Linked DNA regions of Homo sapiens: region 1 is linked to region 2. The links are contacts of gene promoters, found by promoter capture Hi-C in blood cells and fetal thymus (Javierre and others, 2016). All regions are on one chromosome and are shown on one strand. Each heading gives the region's core, a stretch centred on a gene start or on the middle of the fragment in contact. The rest is flanking DNA. Distances are from core to core; before and after follow the strand shown.

Region 1 (6,000 bases), core at 412-2,911, 70 kb before region 2:
TTGTTCAGTTCCCACCTATGAGTGAGAATATGCAGTGTTTGGTTTTTTGTTCTTGTGATAGTTTACTGAGAATGATGATTTCCAATTTCATCCATGTCCCTACAAAGGACATGAACTCATCATTTTTTATGGCTGCATAGTATTCCATGGTGTATATGTGCCACATTTTCTTAATCCAGTCTATCATTGTTGGCCATTTGGGTTGGTTCCAACAAAGATACTCCTCGAGAAGAGCAACTCCATAATTGTCAGATTCACCAAAGTTGAAATGAAGGAAAAAATGTTAAGGGCAGCCAGAGAAAAAGGTCGGGTTACCCTCAAAGGGAAGCCCGTCAGACTAACAGCAGATCTCTCAGCAGAAACTCTACAAAGCCAGAAGAGAGTGGGGGCCAATATTCAACATTCTTAAAGAAAAGAATTTTCAACCCAGAATTTCATTATAAATTATTCATAGAATTCAAAAGCCGAAAAAGTGAAAGCCCCTCCCCGTGTGTATTTACTATTAGTAGTAAACATTTTCTAGGCTTTTTCTTCTGTATATAAACATCTTATATACTTCTTAAAAATAATTAGATCACGTATTTTTTATAGTCTACAACTTTTTAAAGTTTAACCAAATGTCCTATTTCTTTCCACACAGACATCTTTTTATTAGAAAGCACAGTATTCCCTATATGAAAATGCCACAATTTATGTATCCAGTCCTTTATTAACAGGCATTCTCCCTTCAGTTTTTTATTATTAAGGACAATACTGTATTGAACAGCCATATATATGTGTTAACGTTTGAGTAAATACACATACACACACACATATCTTGGTGGCCCTGTGCTAGTATTTCTATATAACAACTTGCTATGTACATTTAAAATTTGGGGTCAAAAAGATATGCACATTTAAGATTTTTGATATTAACAAATTGCTGTCTAAAAGAAAACTGCCGATTTATACTCTTAGTCATTTTCTGGGCAGTCACTACTGATGTTGAGGTGCCAGCAGGGTTGAAGATGGAGCCCCCAGCCATCAGCTGAACCGTGGATGGGGCACAAGTAAAATAGCCTACCTACAAGCATAATTGGAATCAGAACTTACTCTTTAAATCTGTGACTGTGTGCCTCAATTTCTCATACCAGCTTTCTCCATAGGTTGGAAACATTACCACCTAGACTCTTATCATTCCACTTTCACTAATCAGGAGAGATTGCCCTCTTTCCTTAGTTCCAATTTTTAAAATCCTCAGAAAGGAGTCTGAATGGTTCATCGTGGGTCAGACGCCACCTTTTGACCCAGAACACTGCCACCAAGGAATAATGGCAATTTCCATTTAATCTATGTAGATAATGTGGCAGATTTTGTTCGTGGCAGATAAATAATGAAAGCTAATGTTTACAGAGTGCTTAAAATGTACCAGGCATATGCTCACCTAAGCATTTTACATATATGTAGAATGTCTCCCTAGACAGGGTATAGAGGATAAACAGCAAACTTAAAAGAAATTGGAGATGGCTCCAATTGTTGTTGTTACTGCAACAACAGCCATGAGAAATAAAAGCTGAAATAACAGCAGCAAGACATGAGAGAGAAACTTAAATGCAGTAACGATTGTATACTCTACTGAAGTAGAGTATACTTCACCTCACAATAAGTGTTCATTTGGTTATCTAAAACTTAATTTATCAGCTGTTGAATCAGCAGAGGATGTAACCACTTAGATAGCACTATGTGACTCAAATAAATGACAGATTGAGTCTTTCAAGTGTCACAGTATATAATAAGGATCACAAATTTTGTGTGTGTGTTTTTTTATTAAGAGAAAAAAAATGGCTTTGGAGTCAAGTACACTTAGTCTTAAATCCCGGCTCCACTGTTTGCTAGCGATGTAACTGGGTGTATTACCTCATCTGTACAATGGGGATAATACCACCAATCTCATGGTTAAATAAAGTAGTGTGTGTAATTGCTCAGCATAGTAGCATAGTACTTGACACACAGCAAATAGTAGCAGGATCAAATGGGAGAATATATAATTGCCCAGTGGCTGTAAGACAAGAAACTCTTAGTGTTATTACTTCTCTATATTTCTTAGAGATGCCTAATCCCATTTCTTAAAACTGAGAAAATGATCTTATCATTAACCAAGTTTCAGTAAGTAGTAGGATCAAATGGGGTGGTGTACAAATGGGTTTATACATTATGAATAACTTTACTTTGAAAGGCTAATTTCTTGTGTCTTTATTCATAAAAGTTTTCCATTCATCTCTCACTTGTCTGTTTTTAAAAATTCATTCATCGGTGTTTTAAACAAACTGGAGACTAGGGAGTCCCTAAAGGCCTCACTCAGACTTACCTTCTAAAAGCTGGGAAAACTGAATTTTTTTTTATCCAAAATGATGTAAGCTAAAGTACAGGTAGTATATTAACTATTTTAAAAACCTAATGCTTTTTCTGCCTTTTCTTCTACCTCATTGAGTTTAAAGAGTTTTTATTAAAATTTTATTAAGAATTATGAGAAATTATTTAAAAATGTACTGAAAAGGCAATTAAAATTCTCTTCTCACAGATATATGTATATTTTACTAGCCTAACTACGTAATTTTTTAATATAAGAAAGATTTCATTTATCATGAGATCTGAAATTAGAGCTTATAATTATTTAAAGTAGTCAATAATGCTAGCGTTAATGATTTTAAATACAGGTTATAGGTTTCTAAATGACATAATTTACATTTTAATATACAGGTGCTTTTAAGAAGAATTAGGCATTAAGGCTGCCCTTAAGAATGTCTTTCATACTTAATTGTCTAGGGAATAAAAAACATAGGATAGAAAATTGGTTGGATTTCCTGTTTTTTGCTCTTCACTTAAAGATAACATTATTCTCTTTATCTCTGCAAAATAATTACAGATACAAGACCTATAACACAGTTTCTTCTTTTCACAGCTTCGGTGTTTACTTGCCTGGCAATAGCATTGGGATTTTATAGATTCTGGAAGTAGTATTAATGCTCATCCTGCTGTGGCTGTTGGCTTCTTAGAACACCAAACCGGGAGAGATTTACTTTGAACATTGTCAGTTGCAGCAAAAATTTACTACACAAGATTATTCGAAGTGTATACGGACTAAAAGAGGAAGTGTTTTAGAATGAGAAGAGATACTGTGTCTTTATTGTGTGTGTGTGAGTGCAGGTGTGTGTCTTTATTATATTGAAAAGCTGTCACTCAGACCTGGTTTGAGATAGAAGAGCATTTTGTCCTTTTGATAGTTAATAGAAATTGAACCAGAGTTTTCTTATGTTTGCTTGAACAGTTGTGTAAATCATACAGGATTTTGTGGGTATTGGTTGAATATTTGTAAACCATTCCCTAGCCTACATATTTATTACTGAATTAACTTTCCTGATAACCATTGCATAATTACATTTTTCTATAAAATGAAAGATTATTACAACAAAGTTGTGTGGGTTTTCAAAGTGACTTACCATATAGTTGGAGATTGATTTCTTTTTGGTAATGAACTAAAACAATAAATTTTAAAATGATAGGCCAGGCGCGGTGGCTCACACCTGTAATCTCAGCACTTTGGGAGGCTGAGGCGGGTGGATCACTTGAGGTCAGGAGTTCTAGACCAGCCTGGCCAACATGGTGAAACCCCGTCTCTGCTAAAAATACAAAAATTAGCCAGGCATGGTGGCACATGCCTGTAATTCCAGCTACTCGGGAGGCTGAGGCAGGAGAATCTTGCAGTGAGCCGAGATAGCACCACTGCACTCCAGCCTGGGTGACAGAGCAAGACTCCATTACCTAAATAAATAAATGTGTGCTTTAGTGCAAATTACAACACTTAATATGAAATCTGTAGAGTTGCTAAATATTGAGCTCTGATTATTACATGTATTTTTTAAATATTTGATACTCAAAAACCAGTTTATCCCTGCTTCTTAATGTAGTTTAAGTTAACCCATCTTAAATTTATTACATAAAACAAAGCTTTTCTTAATGACTTCAATTCAGCAAACATTGATATCTAGTACCTACTCTCAAGAAACTCATAGGAAAATTTAAATTCGTATTTTGTTTTGTTATTAGATATATTTTTTCTTACAAAGTAATATCTATTAGTAAATCATATGTAATTTCAAAGAAATTTTAAAATATCCTTTTCATCTTAGTTCTTCAGTCTTACCCAGATCAAGAAGACAAGACCAGAAAGTAAACATTTTGAGTTCATAATGCCTTGGTAATAGCTATAAAAGTTTGACAATCATTATTCAAAATAGCCTTGTCATTTGTTTAGCTATAAACAGGGAATCTGCAGTATAGAGCAGTCAAGAGATTGGTCCATATGGTCCAGTGAGTGAGAGTCAGGCTTTCCAACTATATTTTCCTCAAAAATCTAACTGCTGGTTTGTTTTCAAAAGAAAAACCTTGACATTATCCTGTTACATTCTGATTCATTTTTATCTCTATTGCCTAAGAGAGTTCTTAGTATATTATAGATTAATTTTCACTGAGTCAATTAATAAGTTACCATATATATTAAAGTCCACTGTAACAAAGTATACTGCATTTGTTCAGTTAACCAATATGACTGCCTGCTATATGCCAAACAGCATGCTAGTCCCTGTGTGCACAGAGATGAACATGGTTTCATTCTCATTGAATTGACAATCTTAAGGAGAGAGACATAAACAAGTAAATTATTGGTTTGTTAAGATTTAAAATATTCTAAAATATTAAGAGGGAATGCGTCTTTCCTCCATGTGAAGGAAGCTCCAGTAGCATAACACTGTCGTCACTCTTCATCCCCTTATCCACTCTGCCCTAGGTAAAGTGACTTGCCCAATTGTAAATCTGGAAGGAGAAACAAGGTGCAATTAGCCCACTTCCTCCCCACTCCTGTTTGGGACCAGCCCATCTGAAGAGACATTCATTCTGTTCTGCTTCTATGGGATCAGGCTCTGCCTCTGCAGGATGAGGCCTGGCCCAGTAGAGCAATGCTTGAGACAGGGTAAATCTGTCCAGTTCTAGAGTTCAGTGATAAGAAGCTTACTGGCCTTAAGATGAAACCCATATTCTCTTGCTGAGCACAGTGGCACACATCTATAGTCCTAGCTGCTTGGGAGGCTGCGGCAGCAGGATTGCTTGAGCCAAGGAGTTCATCAAGGCTAAAGTGTACCATGATCATACCTATAAATAGTCACTGCACTCCAGCCTGGCAACACATGAGACCCTGTCTCCTAAAAAAAAACTTCTCCAATAGTTTTATCAGCAAATAAAGGTGTTTTTTAGGCCTCTATATTAGTTTATTCATTCTTCATCTTAGTTATATTCACAACCCAGAATGGAAAGGAGGTATGCCATTTATTGGACCTTCTCAAGCCCCAACAAATAAATATACTTATTCCCAGGTTATACAGCCACTAAATATTAAATAGATCTGCGTTCTTTCTCATTGTAGGGGTTTAGCAAACAAAGTGCTTTGTATCCAATAACAGAAGAATAGAAATATGCATACCATACCCTGTCCCCATTACTTTTAGATCCTATATCCTTTCCATGAAACTTCATTTTGATGGTGGTTCTGGGGTTCAGGTAAATTTTTGTTTCAGTGATGGAAATATATGAAATAAGGATGAGAGGATTGTGTTTCTATATGCCTTAAAACTATACCTCTATTCCAGCACTTGCACTTCACTATGAAACAGCAATTATACGTATCTTTTTCCTACACTAAACTACAAGTTCTCAGAAGGCCTCTAGACACATGTGAGGTACTTGTTAAACGCCTGTGGAATAAATGATACTCATAAATCTCAGTTGACCTTAATCCAAACTTTTTAATATTTTAAATATTTAATTATGGGTATGCTGAAAATACTGCATTCATACTGAGTGAGCGTAATACACCTTTTAGGCATTTTCTATGAGTGGTAAGAAGCCTCCACAAGGATTAGCTACTTTCACCATGTTTATAGCCACAGTGTAGATCCTAACCTGCCT
Region 2 (5,816 bases), core at 1,906-4,405:
ACCCAAACTCTCAGTATGACCTCTATGGCCTCCCATAATTTGGCTCCATCTAATTTTATGGTCTTTTTTCTCACTACATTCCATCCCGATTTATTCACTCATCCACTCATCCATCTACTCAACGTAAGTCTGGTGTCTACCATAAGGATAAAAAGATGAAGACACCCTCAAGGAACTCACAGATTAGTAGAGAAGATACAAACACAAAATACAAAATAATGTGGTAAAAGCAACGATGGAAATATTCATAGGAACCTGTGGAAGCACAGATGACTTCAAACTCAGCCAGGGTAGGAGGGAAGGGGAACACAGAAGGATTCCTGGGGAAAGTTACATCTAAGATAGAATCTTCAAGGATTAACAGGAGTTTGCCAAGGCAAGTAGGAGCAGTGAGTAGGCCTAAACAGCATGAACAGTAGGACATGGTCAAGAAACCACACACACACACACACACACACACACACACACTCTCACACACTCACACACAAATCCTACTACTAAAGTATTAAGGGGATAAATAGGCTAGAACTAGACAAGAAACAGACAATGGTGAAACTTATTTTTAAAAACTTGGACTTGAGCAGACAGTGGAGAATCACTGAGGAATTTTAAACAGAAGAATTATAATGATTGAGAGCTGTAAGGCTGAGTTTACAAGGCTAAATTCAGGGAAGAGAATTTACTGAATGGGGAGCAAAAAGGCAAGACTAAAGAGTAGGTTGATTGGCCGGGCGCGGTGGCTCACGCCTGTAATCCCAGGACTTTGGGAGGCCGAGGTGGGCAGATCATGAGGTCAGGAGGAGACCATCATGGCTAACACAGTGAAACTCCGTTTCTACTAAAAATACAAAAAATTAGCCGGGTGTGGTGGTGGGCCCCTGTTGCCCTAGCTACTCGGGAGGCTGACGCAGAAGAATGGTGTGAACCTGGAAGGCGGAGATTGCAGTGAGCTGAGGACCGCGCCACTGCACTCCAGCATGGGGGACAGAGCAAGACTCCGTCTCCAAAAAAAAAAAAAAAAGAGAGAGAGAGAGAGTAGGTAGATCATGTAAGAATACAGTTTACAATAGTCTAGACCAGAAAAAATGAGACTCTGAACACTGGGAAAAGAAAAGGAGAAAGATTCAACAAATATTAATAAAATTAGAATGAACTAAACTGGAATGGATACAGTGGGTGAAACAAGGGAAAAGTAATAAGATAACTCCAAGGTGTGTGGCTTTATCATCTGAGTGCTGTGGTGCCATTAGTTGAGACAGCAAACACTGAAGGACAGAGAGGATATATAGATATAAAATTACATTTTGGACATGCTGCTCTTGAGGTACCCAAGGAAAATTTCCAGAAGGGAGATATCTATATATATGTTTGCAGCTCCGAGGAGAGATACGGAATTCAGGTCTCAGTGTTACGTGTGTCTCTGTATTAGAATGCTTTTTCTGACACCCATACTCACCCCCTACTGGAATCAGTGGCATTCTACCGTCCTTTATAACACTGATCTCACTTGTCATTATTTGCTCAGCATTTATCTTCCTCACTAGAAGGTAAAGAATGTGCCTGTCTTCTTAAGTTCCTTAAGACGGAGCACAAAGTAGGCATATGCAGTAAATATTTACTGGATGGTTGAATGAGTAACCGATTTGAGGGCCACCAGTAGGACTGAAGTCACAGTAAATGACAAGAAAAAGAGAACCAATGATGGCATCATCAAGGGGTAAAAGCTGCATTTAAGAAGATGGCAGAAGAAAAGAAAACGGTAAGGGAAAGGGTCACTCAATGGAGTGAAAGAAGAAAACTAAGTAAGTACTAATTTGTCACCTCCACAGGGTCAAATGCTGCAGGGAAGTCAAGGAAGAACTTAAAAGGGTCCGTCCATTAAGACTGAACAAGAGTTGATGTCAAGCTGGGCAAGAAGACTCGGAGGAATAGTGTGGATGGAAAAAAGGAAAGAAAGCGGAAATAATACAGAACAGGGGAGAGCTGAACAGCTTTGGTATCCCCTGAAAATAAATTAAAAAGGGAAAGGGGGGAGTGACGGCTGAGAAAAGGAAATGCCAGAAAGGGCTAAGGCTGTTGCGGGCTTAAGTGAGAAAAGGAATACGACAGAGATGAAGGCCAATGACAGTCTGACTCACAGGGGTTTGCAGTCTCCCTAGAGGAAGTGGAGGGGCCTGAATTGGCCACCCCGGGCATGGCGCAACACCTCCGACTCTGGGGAGGAGTTGAGTCCAGGCCCCTGATGCTGCGGCGGTCTTCACTTGCTCTCACCCACGAGCCACTGCAGCGGCAGCGGCCCTCTTCTCCGTCGTCACTAGGACGGGGCCCAAGGTCCTCTCTTGCTCTCTCCCAGAAGCTGCAGCGGAAACCTTCGTCTTCACTTTCTCTCTCCCAAAAGCCACTGAAGCGGTAGCTGGCGTCTTCACTGCCGCTCACACCAGAGGAGTCGCTGGCTGCGTAGCCGCGGTCTCCACTTACTTCCTCCCAAGAACTACCAACGCTGTGGCCGCCTTCGACACTCCCTCCCTCCCAGGAGCCACTGAAGCGGCGACTGCGATCGTCACTGACTCTATCCCCGAAGTCACTAGTTCGCGGGTCCCGAATGTCACTGACTCCCTCCCAAGGACCACTGAGGCGGAGGCCTCGGTCTTCTCTGGCTGTTCCCCTGGAGTCGGTAGTTTGGTGGCCTCCAACTTCACTAAAATTCACGTCGCTGCTGCAGAAGGTGCTGTCTCCCCTAACTCTCTCCCAAGAGCAGCTGTGACTGTGGCCACTATCTCCCCTAACTCTCTCCCTAGAGACGCTGCGGCAGTGGCCGAGGTTTTCACTGACCCTTCTCAAGTCACTGCGGGAGAAGCCGGCGTCTGCACTTAGGCTTCCTGCAGCGACCCTGGAGCGGCGGTCGCTCTCTTCACATTTTCTTTCCCCGTCGTCGCTAACTCTTTCCCTAGACTCGGCGCCGGAATGGCCGTGTAGACCGTTTATCCTCCACACGTGGTGGCTAGTGCGGCGGCCACCGTCTTCGTCTGCTACTCCCTGCGAATCGCCGTAGCGGCGGCCGCCTTCCGCTGGTACTTTCTCGGAGTCTCTTTCCAGCCTCCCGACTCCAGCCACTTGGCTGGAGAGGCAGCAGGGCCGTCGCCTTGGAAACGAGTACACTTCCGACGTGCTGAGGTCATTTCCCGTTCCTCACGGCCCACGCTACTTCCGGTTTCCTTTCCCTCAGCTATTCCATGGCTTTTCGTGTGGACAAATCGGGAGGTGGTGTAAACTGGTTTTTGGTGAAATTCGGCTCGGCCTCATGCGAACCTATCTAGGTCCGTCTCTGGAGTGGCCTGTCATCGATCGCGCCCTCCATCGCTGAGCGACACAAGTGGAACCCCCCAGGACTGCATTCTGCGTAGGTGACCTGTGTGGCGCGGGCCGGGCGGGGCCTTTTTGTCCTTGGGCAAACGTGGTATACTTTCTCAGTGGTGGTTGGAAGGAAATTTGTTGCCCTGTCATTTCGCAAGTATGGAAAAAGACCTAAAGGAGAATTTAGCAGCTGCAGCCGCTGTTTTTATTGCGTACTTTACTAGCGCCAACTCTTTAATAATCGCTTGTTAGTTGTTACCCCTGTTTTATGGGTCAAGAGACTCAATATATCAGTACTTTGGTAAGGCCAGGCAGCAGGTAAGTTGTAAAACCAGTAAAAAAACACAGGTCATTAGTCAAAAGAGTGCTTCAGGTCTCCTGACTCCAAATCCGAGAATCCTTTCACTGTAGCATGTTTACTGCTCAAATATTTCTACAACCCTATTGCTTAACAACAGGAATGAATTATTTCACCATTTGTTGCAAACGTATGGGTCACGTTTTGTGCCAGCAGCAGAAAATACAGAAATTAGTAAGAATTACCTGCCCTCCAGGGGCATCACCAACCTGGATTCCCCTCTCGGCCCAGTTTTTCCACCCTTATTGCCTTCTCCCTTCAGGAATAATGAACTCGTCCTGGAAGCGTACCTTACTTTTTAATATCTCTGCCTTGTCATGTGCTGTTCGTCTTACCAGGAAACTACCCTGCTTTTCCCCCAGTTTTGGTCTGTGAACACATTTGGGAAATTCTTCTGATCCTACCGCTACTCTCTTGAGGTACAGTAAATTGTCTTTGACTTCCATCACCTTTTGTAATATTACAATTGCCATCTACTGAGTTCCTATGATCTGCCTGGCATTGTACTAAGTGCTTTATATTTTCTTGTTCATTTTTTTATGCCAACATAAATGAGTTTGACTCAATTCTTATTATAACCTGCCAAAATAAGTATTCCTCTTCCTTTTTACAGAGAGAGAAACAAGGGAAAAAAAAGTTAATTGCCTGAGGATATACTGCTAGTGTTGCGGGACAAATAGAGACGGGAGAGGCCAAACAGAATTCAGGACAACCCTTTATTATTAAGGTGATCACTGGCTCAGTCGGACTGGGGTCCAGAAAGTCTGAGCCCGGAACAAAGGGATCAATCACCTTTTAAGCAATTTGTGGCGGGAGTTTGGTGCTACAGGAAGCCTACTTGCAGAAGCAAGAACAAAGGCAGTTAATTATTCTTTTACATTTGTTACACCACATGTCTTACATCCTTGGGAATGCATGCTTTTGTAGCAATTGCTTATCAACCTTGTGACTTTACAGCGCGCTAGGGAGGGAAGCAGGAACTCGTGGTGCCTCAAGGAACGTGAAACGGTGGAACACAGATAAGCCTCTCCGTGCGTAGAGGAGAAATAAGCGGTTAATATTCTCTCTTAACCCAGGCCTCCGGAGGGTGGGGGGCTATATTTCATTCTACCTCTAAGGAAAAGAATAAACTTCTTGACTAATATACTTATAAAATTCATTAATTCCCCCTTCACTAGTAAATAATAAATACCTGACTTAGGATTCCAAAATAGGTCTTGAATTTTTCTGCAGGAGCTCCTCAAAGTCTCTGAATTCCCACAACCTTTTATTAGATCACTTATCCCATTGTATTATAATTATCTGTTTAACAATTTTTCCTCACCCCTAAAGGACCCTGAGCTTCTGGAAGGTAGGGACTGTATCTTAAAATCTTGGCATTTCTGATGTCTAGAATATTTCATTTAAGAGAAGGGCTTAGTAACTGTTGTGTGGGTGGGTTGATGAGTTAACTGTCAGGCAGGTGAACTAATAGGCTGAAGATAAAGTTTTTCACTGTTGGAAGTGAATTTGGGATTAGTCATCCTAATCCCCTCACTTTTAGAGATGGGGCAACTGAGTCATGCGCGGTGGCTCACGCCTGTAATTCTAGCACTTTGGGAGGCCAAGGTGAGCGGATCACCTGAAGTCAGGGATTTGAGACCAGCCTGGCCAACATGGCGAAACCCCATCTCTACTAAAAATACAAAAATTAGCCAGGCATGGTAGCAGGAGCCTGTAATCCCAGCTGTTCGGGAGGCTGAGGCAGGAGAATCACTTGAACCTGGGAGGCGGAGGTTGCAGTGAGTTGAGATCGCGCAATTGCGCTCCAGCCTGGGCGACAAGAGCAAAACTCCACCTCAAAGAAAAAACAAAACAAGACATGGGGCAGCTGAGGCCTTTTGTATACCAGGCATTTATCGAGTTATTCATGTGGGCCAGTTTCTGTGATAAATGATTTGCAAATAATACCCAACTTAATCTGTATTGTTATTTTTATTTTTACAGATGAAGAAACAGCTCAGATTTGACCAAGATCACACAAGTAGGAGTTGAGGAATTGGAACCCACTATGACTGACTCCAAATTAATATAGTGTTTATAGCCACTTACATAATAATGGTAA

The links. The method cuts DNA at HindIII sites, captures the fragments that hold promoters and counts their contacts. A CHiCAGO score of 5 or more calls a contact.
Region 1: a fragment that was not itself captured here is called in contact with the fragment with the promoter of ANKRD42 in region 2 in 2 of 17 cell types (fetal thymus and naive CD4 T cells); the score reaches 5.1 in fetal thymus.

The regions. Positions count from the first base shown.
Region 1 is chr11:83,258,908-83,264,907 of GRCh38, reverse strand. It overlaps CCDC90B (coiled-coil domain containing 90B), which reads left to right. Exons shown (of 9, transcript NM_021825.5): 9 at 2,942-5,827. The coding sequence ends at 2,997. It also overlaps a transcript of ANKRD42 not described here. Among named protein-coding and RNA genes, the nearest start is that of CCDC90B-AS1, 24 kb to the left of the region's middle. The HindIII fragment of the contact is 4,657 bases long and covers 1-3,989 here.
Region 2 is chr11:83,191,051-83,196,866 of GRCh38, reverse strand. ANKRD42 (ankyrin repeat domain 42) reads right to left here and starts at 3,155. Exons shown (of 11, transcript NM_001300975.2): 1 at 2,139-3,155. The coding sequence starts at 2,196. ANKRD42-DT (ANKRD42 divergent transcript) reads left to right here and starts at 3,198. Exons shown (of 3, transcript NR_149009.1): 1 at 3,198-3,400; 2 at 5,699-5,812. RefSeq lists enhancers at 2,179-2,538, 3,059-3,168, 3,229-3,448 and a silencer at 2,746-2,924. The HindIII fragment of the contact is 14,061 bases long and covers 1-5,816 here.